Regions from separate parts of the Homo sapiens genome. Here regions 2, 3 and 4 are each linked to region 1. The links are contacts of gene promoters, found by promoter capture Hi-C in blood cells and fetal thymus (Javierre and others, 2016). All regions are on one chromosome and are shown on one strand. Each heading gives the region's core, a stretch centred on a gene start or on the middle of the fragment in contact. The rest is flanking DNA. Distances are from core to core; before and after follow the strand shown.

Region 1 (4,788 bases), core at 1,618-4,117:
TGCTCGGATTTCAGGTATGAGCCACTGCTCCCGGCCCCTTTCTTCAAAGAAGGTGACGTTCACAGGTGCCAGGAGTTAGGACTTGAACATATCTTTTTGGGGAACATAATTCAATCCACTACACCTGAGTTATCATTTCTTTCTTTCTTTTTTTTTTTTTTTTTGAGATGGAGTTCGCTCTGTCACCCAGGCTGGAGTGCAATGGCGCAATCTCGGCTCACTGCACCCTCCACCTCCCGGGTTCAAGCGATTCTCCTGCCTCAGCCTCCCGAGTAGCTGGGATTACAGGCATGTGCCACCATGCCTGGCTAATTTTTGTATTTTTTTGTAGAGACGGGGTTTCACCATTTGCCCAGGCTGGTCTCGAACTCCTGACCTCAGGCGATCTCCCCTGCCTCGGTCTCCCAAAGTGTGGGGATTACAGGCGTGAGCCACTGTGCCTGACCCTAAGTTATCATCTCACATCATGTCTGCATCAGACTTTCTGGCTTTATCAAAAGGAAAGGTACAATTTTGCCAGGCTTCTGGAAACAGGGGAAGGAACTCCTGTACCCCCTGCCTGCATGTGTGTACCCTGGCAGGGCTGCCAGGCTGGTGTGGAGGGCACTGGAGTTGTGGTGGGGGGAAGCAGGAGGTCTGTTTGTGGCCATGGGAGCTGCTGCTAACAGCAGGAACCAGAAACGATCTCAGGCCATGAGGACAATTTCTGCAGCTGGCCAGGGACTGCCCTGTTCATCCCTGGAGTTATGCGACACAGAACTCTGAGGTCAGAGTCAGCCCAGGGCACGGGCCGTGCAGGCGATCCCCTGGCTGTGGAGATGAGGTCACAGGCTGGATGCTGGAGCAGTGTCAGGCTAGGAGTGGGCGTCCTGCCTAAGCCACCTGTTCACAGTGAGCAATCAGCTGGCGCCAAAGAAGAGGACTCACCTGGCCAGGTACCAGCCCACTCCAAGTAGGTAGCCTTGGTCTTAGGGGGTTGGGGGGGGCTTCATTCTGCCTGGAGCTCCCACCATCCTTGGCATTGGAGAGAGAGGAACCTGAGCCAGTATCCCCACCCCACCCCAAATTTCTGGCTCTTCGGCCTTTAGGGATGGAGAATGCGACCTCCCCCCTTCTGCCTGGCTGTTATTTCCCAGCTGGGTGGTGTCTCCAAGTTATCCAGCGGGTGGAAACCGCAGCTCAGCTAGTCCCTCTTGCCCGGTGCCCTATCACAGGAAAACAGGCGAGTCAGGGCAGTCAATGAGCCAAAGTCCAGGCCTCCTGGGAAGACACTGCCCGGAACCGTCCCTGCCTGCAAAGAGCTCTTCCTGCCAGGAACGGCCTGCCTGCCCACAGAGCTGGCCAAGTCGGGCACAGCAGATGGTGGAGCCCGGGTGTGGAAACCTGTTTCTCAGTACACAGGAGGTCCAGGAATAAGGCCCCAGGTGATGAAGCAGAGCCAGGATGCACCCACTGCCCTAGAGTGCGGAGGGAGGCGTGCACCTGGGCCCAAGCACGCACTATGTCCATCCTCCTGGCTCTGGCAGCTCCCATCTCCCCTTTAGCAAAGGAGGAGGCACAGGCATGGGGAGGCCCTGTTAGGAAATTTGGCTGTGTGGCTCCAAAGCCCATGATGGGCCCTCTCTGGCAGGTGCCTGAATTTTTAGGCCCCAGGACACCAGAACAGGGCACCGTCTTCATCTTAGGTCTTGACAAAAGACTCAACCTTCCCCAGAGGGAAGGCCGGATGGGGACTGAATCTACCTGCGGATCCACTTAACACTCGTACCTTTTTAAAAAAAATTTTTTTTATTTTTGAGATGGAGTCTCACTCTGTTGCCCAGGTTGGAGTGCAGTGGCGCAATCTCCACTCACCGCAACCTCCATCTCGCAGGTCCAAGCAATTCTCCTCCCTCAGCTTCCAGAGTAACTGGGATTACAGGCGCCCGCCACCACGCCTGGCTAATTTTTGTATTTTTAGTAGAGACGGGGTTTCACCATTTTGGCCAGGCTGGTCTCGAACTCCTGACCTCAGGTGATCCGCCTGCCTCGGCCTCCCAAAGTGCTGGGATTACAGGCATGAACCACCACCACGCCCTGCCAACACTCGTAGCTTTATCATCCCCTTTTACAGACAAGGACACCGATGCACAGAGTGGTTAAGTAACTTGCCCCAGATCACACAGCTCTAGGTGCCCCAGCCAGGCCCTGAATCCAGATCATGTCCATTGTACAGATAGGCCACTCGGTGCCTTGCTGGGCGCTGCGGGCTGTGGGCTGTTGTGTGTGCAATGGGGAGGCCAAGACCAGCCCAGCCCACCAGGCCGGACCCTCGAGTCAAATAAGAAACATGCAAAGATCCAAACGAAGAGCGAATTCATGGAATGAAGCGCAGCTGCATATGCAGCCAGGGTTCCAGCCCCCACGGCCACGTGGAAAGACTGGCTGGCCCGGGTCTTACAGCGCTGAGGGTCGGTCTTCCAGCGCCTTAGGGGCCAGGCGTCCCTCCAAGAAGGCGAGGAAGTAGGCGGAGCTTCTGCCGGCGGACTAATGACGGTACAGAGGCGGGGCCGAAGGGCGGGGACACGTGGAGGGGCGGGGCCATTGGGTAATGGGCGGGGATGCGAGTGGAGGGGCAAAACCATCAGGTAAAAGGACCAATAGAGGTTCAGGAGCGAGTGGGCGGGGCACGCTGTGGGGCGGGATCGGCGGGGGATAGACCAATGGTGGGTAAGAGGCGGGACAGAGGGCGGGGCGCGCGGGGGCTGGGCTGGCGGGAGGCGGGCCAATGGAGGCTCGGGGGCGGGGCCGGCGGGCGGACGGGCGGGGGTGCGGAGGGGGCGGCGGCGGCGGCGGCGAACAAAGAGGCGGCGGGCGCGGGCGGCCGAGCGGAGCCGAGCGCAGCCGAGCCGGGCCGAGCCGGGCCGGGCCGGGCCCAGGAGCGCGCGGATGATGCGGGCGGCCAGGCGGGGGTCGACGGGTCCCTGAAGCCCGCGCCCCGGGCCAGCAAGGGAGCCCCGCGCAGGCCGCGCGCATCCGGAGGCGGCCGGGCCCCGCCATGGCCGGGGTCAGCTACGCGGCGCCCTGGTGGGTGAGCCTCCTGCACCGGCTGCCCCACTTCGACCTGAGCTGGGAGGCCACTAGCAGCCAGTTCCGGCCCGAGGACACCGACTACCAGCAGGTGACATGGGCCTCTCGGGGTCGCGGGGTCAGGGACCCCAGGTCACGGCCCCCTCCTCTCCCAGGGTCACGGCCCCCATCCCCGAGGGCCTAAAGACCCCTCATCCCCCCCTCCAGGGTCACGGCCACCTCCTCCTCGCAGGTACCGGCCTCCTTCCTTCTCGAGGGTCCCTTCTGAGTCCTAGGACCCTTTCTTCCAGGGTCATGGCCTCCTCCTCAAAGGTCTAAATACCCTCCAACCCCCAGTGAGGGTCCACGGCCCCCCTCCCGATTCTGGCCTTCCCTTCTGGTGTCACTAAGGCCCCTGGGTTTCATGGAGCTGCCTCTCCCCACTCCGTGAGCCCCCTTGGCCAGTGGAGGGCCTCTCCACCATCACTGTTGGCGGCCTGGTGCTGTGTCCCAGCAGAGACCCCTCCCCAGATGACCCCCAGGCTCTGAGATCAGAGCGGGTGCCTGAGCACATTGGGTGCAGGCAGGCAGAGACTCCTCGCCCACTCACCCCCGACTGGGGAATCCCACTGCCAGGCTTCCAGTGGGTGAATGGCCTGGGCCGCCGCCAGCCCTCTGTGGCCGGTAATGACCCCCTGCTTGGCGGTCAGGCTGTGGGATGTACACAGGGTGCCGTGTGTGGCCGTGGGAGACCAGGCTGCCTGTAGCCCCCGGGGGAGGGAGGCCCGGCGGCCAGGAAGCACCGTGGGCCTCAGGCAGGGAGGCTGGAAGCGGCTGAGCCCAGGCAGACCTGGGGGGCGGCTGGGGGCCCTTTGCAGCCCTCTCCCAGGGGAGCCCTTAGCCTGGCATCATGCCAGGCCCCAGCACCACCCCCATCGCCAAGCTACTGTCATTTGAGTGCGGGGCAGGGGACCAAGCTGTGGGCATTTCCTTCCTGCCTAGAGATCCGGATTCCAGAAGCCCCGTGACCAGGGTCCCTGGTCACCCGGAGTTTCTCTCTGGACGGATCATGGCAGAGCCCCATGGTGGGGTGGGGATGGCTTTGCTTATCAAAATGGCTTGGGAATCCGGTATTCCGCGGGCAGCCTAGCACCTGGACTCTTCAGAACTGCGTTGTCTGTGGCCTCCCGCATCCAGAGGAGGGAGGCGGAAGTGGAGGAGCAGGGCACCTGGGAGCCCACTGCTCCCAGCCTCGCGCTCACTTGCACCCAGGCCCCCCAGCCGAGCCGATGACGTTTCCTAACAGATGAGGAAGGGGGCGAGGGATCGGCCCAGGCACGCCCAGACACAGCAGGGAGGAGGGAGGCGGAAGGATTGGTATAAAATCTCACGCCTGCGTTCTAGAAGCCCAGCCCTGGGGGACCGTTCAGTGTGGGGGCAATGCACATTCAGGAACTTCTGGAACTTATTCCATGCTGATGGCTTTGCCACTTGTCCCTGGAGGACTCTGTTGAAGCTGCAAGGAGGGTGTGCTTCACTTTGGAAAGTTCTCTGCCCTGAGGGTTTGGCCCATTTGTCAGTTCTTAAGCTCCGGGGCAGCCCTGGGGCGTGGGGGGCGGCTGTTTCCTGCTGCCCCTTGGGCTGCCACCTGCCCGAGCTGCCAGCCACAGTTGGACTTCCTTCCAGCCCTCCGGGGTGCCTGCATTCCCACATTCGAGACAGGCAGTGAGAGGGAGTGAG
Region 2 (4,788 bases), core at 1,212-3,711, 1.1 Mb before region 1:
CTGCCTGCCCCGGTTTCATCGCCTGTGCTTCCAGGCCCAAGCCCATACTGCAACTCCCTGCCAGGCCTCCTCCCTTCCAGGGCCGTCGGGGACTCACTCACAGGCTTGCACTGCAGCAGCCTGGTCCCTCCCTGAGGGCAAGGCCACAGCCCACAAGTCCCCTGGGTCCTGTCTGGCACAAAACTCAGTAACCAGAGGTGGCGCGGCTTGAACAGACACCTCACTACCAAAGTCATCAGGACACTTGTTCTTTTTGACTCCTACAAAGAAATTACCCAAAAGAGATGCTCCCACAGAAACAAAACACTGCAGACCATGAGGCTTGCTGGGGCTGGTGCGATAGCTGCCAGAGCGACTCCCAGGGAGTCACGGAGCCTTGAGAAATGGTCGTTGGGAAAATGGCGCAGAGGGGCAGGGGCGATTCTAGGCACACAGTTAAAGGCATTTCTGCGAGAACGGGACAGTGGTGAAGCTTACATTCCCCCGTTGATGTCCTTACTGTTCTGCTGCTTTTCAACTGAAAACAGGGAGGGGATCAACTCTTCTCTGTTGGTAACCAGGAGGGAAGGAGGAACCAAGTACACATCGCCTCCGCTCAGGTTGAGAGAGGAACGCACCAGGATGGGCAACCTTGAGAACAGACACCTGGGGTGTCGTCACGCCCGGTTTACCCCCAGGGCTCAGACAGTGCCCGTCACAAAGGGGGCGTCCAACAGACACATGAGACAAACAACTCAATAAGGGAGTGACCCGGTTCTCAAAGGGCAGCCACTGGCAGTGCAGGACGCAGATGCACACACGGGATAAGGGCATCTACGTGAGAAGCACTTCCAAGAACAAGCCACAAACATCCGCTCTCCCAAAGGACCTCGGCCATACGGGCAGCACTAGGCCTGGAGGGGGCCTTCCCTGAACACCTGATGGACGGCATGAGCTGAGGGGTGTTCTCGGGGGATGTCCACAGACTCATTACCTTCAATTGGCACCACAGATGGCTCTTTAATCGACGGAGAAATGGCTCGTTTTTCTGCCACTGCAGCCTCAGCCAGGCGCCCCAGGGCACTCAGAGGGGGTGTGGAGGAGAGTTTGGGGCGTTTGGTGAGACCGGTGAGGGCCGAGGCACTGGACAACGCGGCCGCCGCATCCCGCTTGCGCTCAGAAGGCAGGCCGGAAGGGGCTGGCTTCAGCAGGGTGGACGCCGTTTTCGATTCATTGGCCTGACCCTTTGAGCCCAGAGCAATGAAGTCTCCTGGGGGAGGGTGCCCTGCAGAGAAAGGAGAGAGAAAACCGGGCACATTTGCAACACCCAAGATGGAAAAAGACTGACTCTAACCTCCTGTTATGTCAGAGGGGATTAAACAAGGGTCAGAGGAGGCAAGGAAGAAGCCAGAGCTCACTCAGCAGCCTACAGCAGAGCTGGGACCAGCAGGATACGCACAGGTGATGGTGGACAGTCACGTAGCGCTAACCACAAACCAGGCCATCTCTGGTCTATCCAAATTAGTGTGCTTAGTAACCCCCGCCCCGAGTTTCCGCAATAGGTGCTATTACTCTAACTTTACAAGAGAGAAAGGGACACAGAGAGGTTAAGCGACGTGCCCAGCGTCACACAGCAGGCGAGTGGCAAAGTCCGGAGGATCTGAGCCGACAGTTCAGCCGCAGACCCCGTGCTACGCTACACTGTGCTGCCTCCCGCCTCCTGGCTGGGGAGACCTTCCGCTACTGTCGGCCGCCTTGCAGCTCAGCCTGAAACGAGATCACCGGGGTCCCGAAGGAAGTCGCCACTGTCCCAAGCCTCCCAGGGACTCTCAGAGCCGCTGAGGACCGAGAGCAGTGTTTCCAGACCGAATTCCTGGAAACAGCCGCGGCTGCGGAACAACCAAGCCCAACGCAGGATCCGCGGCAGCTGAGATCCCCAAAGACCCCCAAAGACCCCCAAAGACCCCCGGGCTGCAGAGCGAGGAGGGAGACGCACCTGAGGGTTTGGCCGCGGCGCTGGGCCGGCGCACCGTGGTGGGCTTGGCCCGGTTCATCCTGCCCCGTCCCTCGCGGCTCCCGGCGGCTGCGGCGTCACCTGCGGAGGAGCCAGCGTGCGGTCATTCCTTCACTCATTCGCTCGTTCGCTCGCTCATTCGCTCCCTTGCCGCACGGGGCTTGGGCCTGGGACCCGGGGACAGTGGTCCCGCGCCCGCCCGGCGGGGCGATGCTGCAGGAGCTGCAGGGACCCCGCCTCCCAGCCGCCCGGGAGCGGCTCAGTCGGGCGGCAGCAGGCGACGCGGACGCCGGGCTGGAGGCGGCAGAACCAGAAGGGACGGCCCAGAGGCCGGGAGCGGTAGCCGGGAGAACCAGGCGCTCGCCCGGCAATGAGGAAGCGCCCAGGCCGCGGCTCACTTACCTCTGGCCCATCGCGACCGGAGCGCCGCCGCCGCCACCCGGCCACCCCGGAATCGGAAACCGATCTCACCGCCCTCGAGGACCCGACTTCCGGAACAACCGGAAGGAAAACAGTGCGGCGGGAAGCGGGCCCAGAAGGAGGCGCGAGAGGCCCGCGGCGCCGGCCTGATGCCTGCAGCGCCCCATGGCGGCGGGAGGCGGGCTGGCCGGCGCCGCGCGCATGTGGTCCGGTCCAGGTGGGTCGGCGGCGCGGGGCAGGCGCTGGCCTCTCCATTCACAGGTGGTGCTGGCGTTGCGAAGGGACGCACTCCAGGACGCACGGCGGGGAGGAGTGGCGTCAGGGATCCGCGGATGAGTCAAGTGGCAGGTTCTGCACGTCCCGGAGAGCGGGGGCGGCCGGGGCGCAGGCACTGGCGAGGGGGCGCAGCCCGGGGGGCTCCCGGGGAGAGACCCTGTCTCAAATAATAATAATAATAATAATAATAGCTTTATTGAGATAGAACTCGTGTTCCACAAAGTTCACCCTTTTCTTTTTTCTTTTTTTTTTTGGCACGGAGTCTCGCTCTGTCGCCCAGGCTGGAATGCAGTGGCGCGACCTCGGCTTATTGCAACCTCCACCTCCCAGGTTCAAGCGATTCTCCTGCCTCAGTCTCCCGAGTAGCTGGGATTACAGGCGCCCGCCACCATGTCTGGCTAATTTTTTTGTGTTTTTAGTAGAGACGGGGTTTCACCATGTTGGCCAGGCTGGTCTCGAACTCCTGACCTCAGGTGGTCCGCCCGCCTTGGCCTCCCAAAGTGCTGGAATTACTGCGCCCGCCCCGCCCCCACGCCTTTTTTTTTTTTTTTTTAATGGAAACACTGATGGGAACAAAACTCAAAAGACACAAAAGATCATACAGTTGCCAGGTGTGATGCTCATGCCTGTAATCTCAGCACTTTGGGAGACCAAGGCAGGAGGATCGGTTGAGTTCGAGACCAGCCTGAGCAACATAGCAAGACCCCCATCTCTACAAAAAAATAAAAATTAGCTGGGCATGGTGGCATGAACCTCTAATCCCAGCCCTTTGGGAGGCCAAAGTGGGAGTCTGAGACCAGCCTGGGCAACATAGTGAGACCCTATCTCTACAAACAAAAATCAAGAATAAATTAGCCAGGCATGGTGGTGCATGCCTACGGTCCCAGCTACTGAGGAGGCTGAGGTAGGAGGATCTCTTCAGCTTGGGAGGTCAAGGCTGCAGTAAGCTATGATGGTGCCACTACGCTGCAGCCGGCCGACAGAGCGAGACCCTGTCTAAAAAAAAATAAAAATAAAAGGTGGGGGAATCATCCAGTCAAAGGGTCGAAGGTCTCCCCTGACCCCTGAGCAGCTGGTCCCCTCCCCTGGAGTCAGCCTGTGTTCTGATTTGTGCCTGTGTTCCCGGCTTTTCCGTGTGCGTTCAGGCAGCCACCCGTGTGCCTCCCTCTGCCTTGTCACCCTGCAGGTAGCGCACGGCTCCTCTTTTCTGCACCTGGCTTTTGCCACTTAACCACATCTTGGAGATCTGTTCCCAGCAGGGCACTGACTCGAACGCTGCCCCGCCACCGAGGGAGTCCTGAGCACCGCCTGCCCGGTGTGTCCCATCTCCTCATCCAGGGACCGCAAGGCAGAGCTGGTCTCCCTGTGCCCCTGAAGTTGGGTGTGGCCATTTGACTGTGGCCTCAGTGAGGCTCATGGCCCCAGGCTGCAGCCTGAGAACTGCTGTGTGACCCGCCACGGTCTCTTTCCACTCCTGTGGGCACCAGCTGGGTCCCCGCAGGACCCCAAGGGCTCCAGGGCCCTGCACCCTGCGCTGTGTGGGCAGCGAGTCCGGAAGGAGACGTCCGTGGTGCCCATGGGAGGAGAGGCCGGTCAGGCGCGGATCCCTGCCGGACGCCAGGCGGGGGCTGTGCGGCTTCATCCCTCTACAGTTTCTCAATCTGTCCCTCAGGGTAACTCTCTAAGGGGAGGGGAGATCCGATGGGGTAATGCTTCCTCCTCCTGTCACCTGAATGGGAGCACCCTGCACAGAGCTTCCTCTGCCCCGCCACCTGCCTCTCCTCATCCTCTGACCAGCATCACCGCCCCTGCATGCGGGGCCTGTGCCTTCGGCAAATGCCCTCACCCGGGCCCAGGCCAGAACCTCAGGGTCGACCTTGAGAACAACTACCTCCTCCTCCCCCTCCCCCTCCCCCTCCCCCTCCTCCTCCCCCTCCTCCCCTTCCTTCTTCTCCCCCTCCTCCCCCTCCCCCCTCCTCTCCTCCTCCCCCTCCCCCTCCCCTCCTTCCCCTCCCCCTCCTCCCCCTCCCCCCTCCCCTTCGTTCCCCTTCTTCTCCTCCTCCCCCTCCTCCCCTCCTCCCCCTCCTCCTCCTCCTCCT
Region 3 (4,788 bases), core at 880-3,379, 1.1 Mb before region 1:
TGCAGTGGCTCACGCCTGTAATCCCAGCACTTTGGGAGGCCAGGGCGGGTGGATCACCTGAGGTCAGGGGTTCGAGACCAGCCTGGCCAACATGGTGAAACCGTCTCTACGAAAAATACAAAAATCAGCCGGTGTGGTGGCGCACGCCTGTAATCCCAGCACTTTGGGAGGCCGAGGCAGGCAGATCACAAGGTCAAGAGATTGAGACCATCCTGGCTAACATGGTGAAACCCGTCTCTACTAAAAATACAAAAAAAAAAAAAATTAGCCGGGCGTGGTGGCAGGCATCTGTAGTCCCAGCTACTCAGGAGGCTGAGGCAGAAGAATTGTTTAAATCTGGGAGGCGGAGCTTGCAGTGATCCGAGATCGTGCTACTGCACTCCAGCCTGGCAACAGAGTGAGACTCCATCTCAAAACAGCAACAAGAACAAAAACAAAATTTAACCAGACGTGGTGGTGGGCACCTGTGATCCCAGCTACTCGAGGGGGCTGAGGCAGGAGAATCACTTGAACCTGGGAGGCGGAGGCTGCAGTGAGCCGAGATGGTGCCACTGCACTCCAGCCTGGACGACAGAGTGAGACTCCATCTCAGAAATAAATAAATACAAATTAAAAAATTAAAGAGATAATAAAAGTGTGTGATTAGTAACAAAAGCCTGCTATGGAAAGAATGCATTTGGGTTAGAGGAGCGACACCATGAGTAACGTAAAGAGTCCCGCGGAGATGGCCACAGCTTCTCTGGAGGCTCCCAGCGCATCCCAGGACCCCGAGTGCAGAGTGTGGGCCAGGACAAGGGAAGCACCTTTCCCATCCCCGGGGGATGTCTTTCTGCAAACATCCTGGGGACGTGGGACATTGTCGCTACTGCTGCTGTTGAGTTATTTCTTGGCACCTGTTTCTGCGGCCAGGTTGCAGGCATCACTGTGGCTAGCTGCCCCAGACGGCCGTGTGGGCCTTAGCAAGGAGGGGCCTCCCAGGTGGCCAGTGCAGAACCCGCAAGTGGGGGGGAGAGATGGCCCGGGAGGCTGCCCCCGCGCTCCACAGCAAGAGGCCACTGGGCTGCTGCCTAAATCCCCAGCCACATGGTGGTAAGGACGACACCCAGAAGATGCACAGACCTCCCTGCACTGGCTCCTGAGTCCCACCTGAGCCGAGAAAACAGGCTCCCGGGTCCCACCTGAGCTGAGAAAACAGGCTTCCCAGAACCCCGGGCAGATGCCATGGGTGTCCTGGGGGGCCCTCGGTTGCCCAGGCCTGAAACTCCTCTTCCTGCAGCGCTCAGAGGGGGGCGGGACTTGGGGACCCAGAAGCGTGGCAAGGGGCTCCAGACGGATCCCCTCTCCAGCCTGTCCTCCACCTGTGACAGGAAGCAGAGGCAGCTCCCTCAGGGGCCCGCCCCCACCTGAGGATCCCTCACAGGACTCCTTGGGCCAGTGGTGCCCTAACCCCATCCTGGGCCTGCTGTGTCCCCTGGCAACCACCAGCTGGGGCTTTAGAAGGGGGCTGGCCCCACCCACAGAGGCTGTGATCACTAGCCGCTTATCCCCATTTTTACATTGCTGGTTTGCTTGTTTTGTTTTTTTGAGACAGGGTCTCACCTTGTCACCCAGGCTAGAGTGCAGTGATGAAATCATGGCAGCCTCCACCTTCCAGGTTCAAGCCATCCTCCTGCCTCAGCCTCCTGAATATCTGGGGCCGCAGGCACATACCACCACGCCCGACTAATTTTTGTAATTTTTTTGTAGAGATGGGGGTCTCACTGTGTTGTCCAGGCTGGTCTGGAACTCCTGGGCTCAAGCGATCCTCCTGCTTTGGCCTCCCAAAGTGCTGGGATTACAGGCATGAGCCACCGTTCCCAGCTGGCCTTAATGTTTTTTATGTTTATAGAGACAGAGAATGGGGGAAGGGAGGTTTCGCTATGTTGCCCAGGCTGGTCTTGAACTCCCGGCCTCCAGAGATCTTCCCGCAGGGCCTCCCAAAGCGCGGGGATTGCAGGTGCGCGCGGGGCCAGCGGCCCCCCGGGCGGGAGAGGAGGGCGTGGCCGGGGGGCGTGGCCGCGGGGCGGGGAGGGGGCGTGGCCCGGGGGGCAGGGCGGTGTGACGCGCGCGCCGCGGATCCCGGAAGCGGTGTCAGATGCTGGGGAGCCGGGCGGGCGGGTGCGGTGGCGGCGGGCGGCGCGGGGGCACTTGTTGTTCTTCGCGAAGTCGGAGCCCGAGCGCCAGGCGGCGGCGGCGGCCGAGGGGAGCGCGACAGTGAGCGCCGGCGCGAGGACAGCGCGTGCCCGCGAGGAGCCGCCGCGCGCCCGCGCCCTCCGCGCGACGCCAGGTGAGGGGCGGTGGGGCAGCGGGGCCCGGGCCGCGGCGGGGACGGGGACCGGGGCGCGGGGCCGGGGCTACCTGGCCGCTGAGTCACGGCCGCCTGGGGGCGCGGGCCGAGGGTGGCGGGGTTGGGTGCGCGGGGCCCGAGACCCTCATGCGGCCCGCGGCGCGGCCCGGGCACCTGCCCAGGTGGGCCCCGCCCCGCAGGCCCGGGGGCTTCCCCGGGACGCGAGGCTCTCTCCCCTGCACGTGCCGCCCGGGCCATGCTTGCCGCGCCGGGGGCCCCAGGGCGCGGACCCCAGACCTGGGAGGACGAGGATCCACGCGGGTCGGCGGCGCGCATCGGGCCCGCGCCTTCACACCTGCGGGGGGCGGGGCGGGGCGGGCGCCACGTGCGGGCGGTGCGGGGAGGGCGCGGGCGCGTGGATTCTCCGCGGCTTCCGCCCCAGCGTGGCTTCCGCGTGCGGCCCCGGACTGCCCCCCGCGCTTCCTCCCGGTGACGGGCGGCGCTCTGGCCCAGTGGCTGGGGTCACGCGTGCCCGGGAACGGGGTGGGGGTAACCGGGTCTCCCCACAGGCGGGATCCTGGGACTGGTGTCGCTCTCAGCCGCCCACCTGCCAGGGTTGCTGGAAGGAAGGCCGTGGGGAGGCGGGAGGGGGGCAGGTGACAGTGGCCCCAAGGCTCGTCCCTTTGCTCACGTGTGGGGCAGGGGCTCCGGCCTCTTCCCGCTCCCACTGCGTGAGTTCTTCTGTGCCTCTGTCAAGTTCAGGAAACTGTGTATGTGCCCGTGACTGTGTGTGTCTGCGTCTGCACAGCCTCTAGATCCTGGGGGGTGGGACCAGGCGCCACCGAGAAACCCAGAAAGCCAGGACCCCGCCTGGCCTTGGCCCTTGACCTGGGTCCGCCTGGGACACAGCAGTGGCCCTGCACTGCATTCTCGCGCTCACACCGTGTGTGTCCGTGTTCGCGGGGCCTCCCGTGTCCCTCTCCTGGTGTCCTGCGTCCCTGAGCATGCTGTTTTCTTGCTTCTTAAGTAGCTCTTGTAGCTGAGGCAGAAATTAGATCCACTCACCATTCATTCACCAGGTGACCCACAGGCAGCCAGCCAATCTCTGGCCAGGTGCCTGGCCTTGGGAAGATCCTGAGACTCAAAACGCCCCCCACCGCCCCCCATCGTGGTCTAGGGGATATCTGTGTGGTTCGGCTCTGGCAGCGCCCTTCCCACCCCTCTGATTCTCCAGGGTGGGCTGCCAGGTCTCTTTACTGGCACTGAGGTTTCACCGTCACGGTGTGTTGTTGTAAGGGGTTCTCCAACACAGAGTGGGGTGCCCTATGCAGCTTCTCCAAACCCAATGTCTTCAGGGACATGGAGCATTAAAAGAGCCGTGGGCGGGGTCTGGAGAACATAGGTGGGCTGTGCAGGTGTCTGGGACACACCTACACCCTATTTGGGCGTCCAGTGCCATTTATGAGAACATCTCCCTTTCTTAGGTAACCCAGTAGGAATGTCTGAGTTTGACCTTGGGAGAGGGAGTCTGCTTTTAAAACTAGACCTCTCATTATTCCAAAATAAGACATTTATTAAAGCAGAAAAACCAGGCTTCTCCTGCCTTTTATCCTTGAACCGAGCCAGGGCTTTGAGGGGCTGGTTGCCCGCAGCGTCGACTCCCCAGGTGCTGGTAAACCCGGGAGCCAGCGTTTACCGAGGGTCAGGGTTGTCGGGGCGCCAGCCTTTGTGTGCACCCGGGAGGCTGCTGTTAAGGGAGACCGTCTTCCGGGCCACTTCGCTGTCTACAAGGCGTGTGCTTTCACCCACGGGGCTCAGCGATGGCTGCGTTTGTTTACAGTCTCTGGCAAAGCTGTTTGCCACCCAGACGGAGAAGAAGTTGTGCCTGTTCTTGTCCCAGCTGTTTCTGAGTCTAAAGGTTTCTGGAGTGGACTTTCTGGGTTTCGGGTCCAGTCCACACGGGAAATGGAAATCTGGCCAGCTGAGAGAGGGCTCCGTGTGGCCGCCTTTCAACAGTAAACAGTGACTCACCGCTCCGTCCCCACCCTCCCTGCTCTCCGCGAATGGAAGATGCCTTTCCCCGCTATTTATTTTTGCTTTTTATAAGTCACAGACTCGTCATGTTTCCGCTTTCCTACAGTTTCAGGAAACTGGGAGTGTCGTCTTAAAATCATAGAGTTTTAGAGCAGGTACAAGCGAACTTGAGTGGCCACATGCCCCACCCCCCGACCAGCTGCTGTAGATGAGGAAGCCCAGGCCATGAGGTCTGCTGGCCTGTCCCACAGGCCGGTGGGGTCTGGTGTAGAGCCTTCCTGCTTCTCCGCACTGTGCGTCGGGTGTCCTGGGGAAGGTATTGGGGTGGAGACTGCCCTCTCCCTGCCCTCCCATGCGGGGCCGGCTCATCTCGTACAGCGGGGGCTAGTGTGGGGTGTAGGGAAGACCTTCTCCCTGCTTGCAAGGAG
Region 4 (4,788 bases), core at 754-3,253, 1.1 Mb before region 1:
GGCACACTGCTAAAGACCATCACTCCATTCATTTTCCCAGCGCCTTCCGCAGCCCCGCCTCTTCTGGCTCTCTCTCATCTAAAAGAACCCAGGAAAGAGAAGCCTGCAGAAGCGAGTGCTGTCGAATCTCACGTGTGATCTCCACAGAGCACAGCACAGCCAGCCGCCTGCTCACGTAATGTACCATGGCAGGGGAGGCGGCTCGAATGACAAAACTGCTGCTTCTGCTTGTCTGCTGGATAAAATGCCTGCGGGCTGGACAAAGCATCCACTGAGGGCAAGCAGGGCGCCTTGAGACCCACAAATGCCCGGAAAATGCTATCGCTGTAGGGGTATTTGTCCGCCAGATGCCCCATGTCCTTACTGACAAATCACAGCCACTGGAGAGGTTTATGCTCCTCCCTGGGGGTCCCTTCCTGACCACTTTATTATTATTATTATTATTATTATTATTAAAGACAGAGTCTTGCTCTCTCACCCAGGCTGGAGCGCAGTGGCACAATCATGGCTCACTGCAGCCTCAACCTCCAGGGCTCAAGCCATCCTCCCACCTCAGCCTCCCAAGTAGCTGGGAGCACAGGCACACACCACTAGGCCCAGCTAATTTTTTGTTTCCTTTTCTTTTCCTTTTTTTTTTAAGACCAAGTCTCTATCTGTTACCCAGGCTGGAGTGCTGTGGCACGATCTTAGCTCACTGCAACCTCCGCCTCTCGGGTTCAAGCGATTCTTCTGCCTCAGCCTCCTGAGTAGCTGAGATTACAGGCATGTGCCACCACACCCAGCTAATTTTTATATTTTTCGTAGAAATGGGGTTTCCCCATGTTGGCCAGGCTGGTCTGGAACTTCTGACCTTAAGTGATCTGCCCGCCTCAGCCTCCCAAAGTGCTGGGATTACAGGTGTGAGCCACTGCACCCAGCCTCTCTCTATATATATATTTTGTGTAGGCACTTGTTTTTTTGTAGTGACTTGTGTGTGTGTTGTTGTGTTGCCCAGGCTGGTTTCAAACTCCTGGCCTCAAGCGATCTGCCCGCCTAGGCCTCTGAAAGTGCTAGGGTTACAGGCGTGAGCCACAGTTCCCGGCCAATCCACTTTACCTCATCCTGCCCCAGAAGGACTTTTGTGGTGAGCACAGGCTTGCTGACGTCACTGGCCACGCTGCTGGGCTCCAGGGAGACCAGGGTGCCCATCTTCCCAAACTGGGTCACCACCACCAGGATGTGACTGCTGAAGGCCGTACACACCACCTGGGTGGGGACCCCGCACACCACCTCCGTCTTCTGCTTCGATATCACCAACGGCGTGTCTTCCATGGCGGGGCTCTGCAGTGGCAGCTTTAATTTAGGTTAAAAAGAAAGGGGAAAAAAAGGAGTCAATCAAACAGTACAGCCTTGGGGCTCCCAAAAAAGTAGCACGGGGCATTGAAACGGAAACGCAAGGAGGCCCATTCAAAAGAAGGGGCCAGGCGCGGTGGCTCATGCCTGTCATCCCGGCACTTTGGGAGGCCGAGACAGGACGATCGTTGAGGCCAGGAATTCGAGACCAGCCTGGCCAACATAGCGAGACCCCCATCTCTACCAAAAAAAAAAAAAAAAAAAACCAGCAGGGCGCGCCTGTGGTCCCAGTTACTCAGGAGGCTGAGGCGGGAAGATCGCTTCAGCCCGGGAGGTCGAGGCTGCGGTGAGCCGTGATCACACCATTGCATTACAACCCGGGCGGTAGAGCGAGACCCTGTCCGTAAAAAAATAAAACAGAAGCAGGAGCGGGGCCGCCCATAGAGACCGCGCCTGGGGCTTTCTGGGTTAGGGGATCGACTTGCACGTTCACACTGCCAGGCCGGGCAGTGGCTTCCCGCCCCTCGGCCTCGCCGCCGCCCCGGCCCTGCAGCCGCGGCCCGGGACCCCCACGACACGCGGTGCCGAGGCCGGCCGGGCTACTGGGGACGCAGCCGCCCGGGGAAGCCCGCGGGTACCCGCGCTCACCAAGCCGGCGCCGCGCCCGGAAGTGGCTCTGCGTGCGCCACGCGGGCCCGCCCCGTCCGCGGGTTCCGTCCACCTTCCGGAAGTCAGGGCCGCGGCGCTTCTGGTCCCGGAGACTTGGGGCTCCCGGGCTTCTGAGCGGCTCGGGTTCCGCGCTGCCGGCAGGGCTTGGGGGCGCCTTAGAGCCGAACCCCGTTTTTTCAGGAAAGGGCGCTGCGACCACCCCCGTCCCGGGCCTCAGCCCCTCTGCTGCAGACCCTCGGGATCGTCGCTGGTAGGAGCTCTGTCCCCCGTGTCTGTGTCCAGGACCCCCGAAGCGCCGCGCCTAGGAACCCCCTAGCGCTGGGAGCCCGGCCCTGCTCGACCACGGGCTTTGGGCTGGAGGCGTCATCGTCGCCACAGCGAACGCTTATTTGGCACCGAGTGTCCGCCAGGCATCGCTCTAAGCGCTTTATACCCATAACTCACTTCATCTCAGCCACCCGGTTCCGTAGAAGCGTTTCATCCGCGTTTTACAGACGTGTGCAGGTGCAGAGAGCTCGGCCAGGCTCAGGCGGCGGGCGGGCTGGGGTGGGCTCCGACCGTCCCTCGGGCGCTCCGTGACACGAAGCCCCGGCCAAGGCCAAGAAGGGGGCCAGCCCCACCCTGAAGCGGGATGAGTTCTGGTTCCTCCCAGGGACCCCCTCACTCCCTACTGCTCACTCTCAGTTTCTCCAAGCTGGAAGGTTTTTTGTTTTGTTTTGTTTGAGACGGAGTCTTGCTGTGTCACCCAGGCTGGAGTGCAGTGGCGCGATCTCGGCTCACTGCAGCCTCCGCCTCCCTGGTTCAAGCAATTCTCCTGCCTCAGCCTCCTGTGTAGCTGGGATTACAGGCGTGCGCCACCAGGCCCGGCTAACTTTTTAAATTTTTAGTAGAGATGGGGTTTCACCATGTCGGTCAGGCTGGTCTTGAACTCCTGACCTCAGGTGATCTGCCTTCCTCGGCCTCCCAAAGTGCTGGGATTACAGGCGTGAGCCACCGCGCCCCGCTGCTGGAAGTTTTATTGGTAGGGTCGGACATCTTGGTAGCAGAGGCTGAAAGTGATTGGAGCCTCCAGAGCCTTCCTCGGGGTGGGGCGTTTAACATCCCTTCAGAACCCCACCCTCGGAGGCCTTACTGTCGTTTCCTGACAACCATGTCAAGGCCGTATTTTCTGTCTATATTACCAGAAAGGGGTCCCGATCCAGACCCCAAGAGAGAATTGAGGGCGAGTCCACAAAGTGAAAGCAAGTTTATTAGAAAAGTAAAGGAATTGAGGCAGGAAAACAGGGTCTGGAGGCAGGGAACACTTCAGCTATGACAGGAAATACCCTCTCCATAGGGTGTACACTGAGTAAATGATTTTGTAACTTTATTTCATCCTCTTTATTTACATAGGGCGTACACCAAGTAACCAGTAGAAACCCCTAGAGGGTATTTAAACCTCACAAGTTCTGTAATGGGGCCCTGAGCCTCTATGCTTTGGCCGCCCCCACACCATGGAATGTACTTTCATTTTCAAAAAATTTCTGCTTTTGTTGCTTCATTCTTTTTTTGCTTTGTGCATTTTTTTTTTTTTGAGACAGAGTCTCTGTTGTCCATGCTGGAGTGCAGTGGCGTGATCCTCACTGCAACCTCTGCCTCCCGGGTTCAAGCAATTCTCCTGCCTCAGCCTCCTGAGTAGCTGAGATTACAGACGTGCGTCACCATGCCCGGCTAACTTTTGTGTTTTTAGTAGAGACGAGGTTTCGCCATGTTGGCCAGGCTGGTCTTGAACTCCTGACCTCAGGTGATCTGCCCGCCTCGGCCTCCCAAAGTGCTGGGATTATAGGTGTGAGCCACCGCGCCCGGTGGCTTTGTGCATTTTGTCCAATTCTTTGTTCAAGATGCCAAGAACCTGGACACCCTCCACCAGTAACAGAATAAAGAATGGCTACTCCATAGGCAGAGCAGCATGGGCTGCTGGTTGCCCATTTTTGTGGTTATTTCTTGATGATATGCTAAACAAGGGGTGGATTATTCGTGCCTTACCTTTTTAAACCCTTTAGGGTAACGTCCTGGCATTGCTATGGCATTTGTAAACTTACGGCGCTGGTGGGAGTGTAGCAGCTGGGACGACCAGAGGTCACACTCATCGCCATGTTGGTTTGGTGGGTTTTGGTCAGCTTCTTTACTGCAAACTGTTTTATCAGTAAGGTCTTTATGACCTGTAGCTTGTGCCGACCTCTTATCTCATCCTGTGACATAGAATGCCTTAACTGTCTGGGAATGCAGCCCAGCAGATCTCAGCCTCATTTTACCCAGCCCCTATTCAAGATGAAGTTGCTCTGGTTCAAACACCTCTGACATTTACACCACTGAAGCTCCAAGGAAGATCTTGACTCCCTCTTCTCACCATTTGATGACTTCGTATCCAATCCAAGTCAAGTCAAATGAAGCATGCTCCTTCCAATGATGATTTCTGGAGGCCTAAAATAAAAAGCATGCATACAGAAAATGATCAAAATAGACATAAATCAAGGGGAAATTCATTTTTGAGCATTCTTGCAGCCAGTACACAAAAGGAGAGATGATGAGTTTCATGGTTCTAATACTCAAAAAACAGGAAGCATATCAACTTCCCAGGAAAGTCTAAGTTTCTGTCGGCTCTAAATTTAAACACACATCCACCCACACATACCCCACAAGCAAATTGCCAGTGGATTGCTTTGCCATCTGAAATCTTCAAAAGGTTCACTCGCTTTTATTCACCTGTTTGTGTATTCTCCCTCTCTGTAGGCAAATAGATACAAG

What was found. The method cuts DNA at HindIII sites, captures the fragments that hold promoters and counts their contacts. A CHiCAGO score of 5 or more calls a contact.
Region 2: a contact is called between the fragment with the promoter of INTS1 here and the fragment with the promoter of TTYH3 in region 1, in 2 of 17 cell types (neutrophils and monocytes). The highest score is 11.2, in neutrophils.
Region 3: the fragment with the promoter of MAFK here is called in contact with the fragment with the promoter of TTYH3 in region 1 in 2 of 17 cell types (monocytes and M1 macrophages); the score reaches 6.6 in monocytes.
Region 4: a contact is called between the fragment with the promoter of PSMG3 here and the fragment with the promoter of TTYH3 in region 1, in 1 of 17 cell types (neutrophils). The highest score is 7.6, in neutrophils.

What each region holds. Positions count from the first base shown.
Region 1 is chr7:2,629,119-2,633,906 of GRCh38, forward strand. TTYH3 (tweety family member 3) reads left to right here and starts at 2,868. Exons shown (of 14, transcript NM_025250.3): 1 at 2,868-3,160. The coding sequence starts at 3,038. RefSeq lists enhancers at 2,293-3,024, 3,757-4,489, 4,269-4,378 and a silencer at 2,809-3,218. The HindIII fragment of the contact is 11,109 bases long and covers 1-4,788 here.
Region 2 is chr7:1,501,928-1,506,715 of GRCh38, forward strand. It overlaps INTS1 (integrator complex subunit 1), which reads right to left and starts at 2,462. Exons shown (of 48, transcript NM_001080453.3): 1 at 2,396-2,462; 2 at 1,976-2,074; 3 at 974-1,264. The coding sequence starts at 2,033. RefSeq lists a silencer at 2,108-2,667 and enhancers at 3,554-4,150, 3,776-3,965, 4,151-4,746. The HindIII fragment of the contact is 9,546 bases long and covers 471-4,788 here.
Region 3 is chr7:1,528,573-1,533,360 of GRCh38, forward strand. It overlaps MAFK (MAF bZIP transcription factor K), which reads left to right and starts at 2,130. Exons shown (of 3, transcript NM_002360.4): 1 at 2,130-2,326. It overlaps LOC100128653 (a long non-coding RNA gene), which reads right to left. Exons shown (of 1, transcript NR_149036.1): 1 at 3,881-4,788. RefSeq lists silencers at 1,960-2,229, 2,720-2,849 and enhancers at 4,166-4,315, 4,241-4,535, 4,506-4,615. The HindIII fragment of the contact is 17,285 bases long and covers 1-4,788 here.
Region 4 is chr7:1,568,029-1,572,816 of GRCh38, forward strand. It overlaps PSMG3 (proteasome assembly chaperone 3), which reads right to left and starts at 2,004. Exons shown (of 2, transcript NM_032302.4): 1 at 1,096-2,004. The coding sequence starts at 1,311. It overlaps PSMG3-AS1 (PSMG3 antisense RNA 1), which reads left to right and starts at 2,045. Exons shown (of 5, transcript NR_027329.1): 1 at 2,045-2,251. RefSeq lists enhancers at 1-27, 1,734-2,302, 2,926-2,995, 3,006-3,055 and silencers at 1,676-2,105, 2,546-2,625. The HindIII fragment of the contact is 7,479 bases long and covers 1-4,788 here.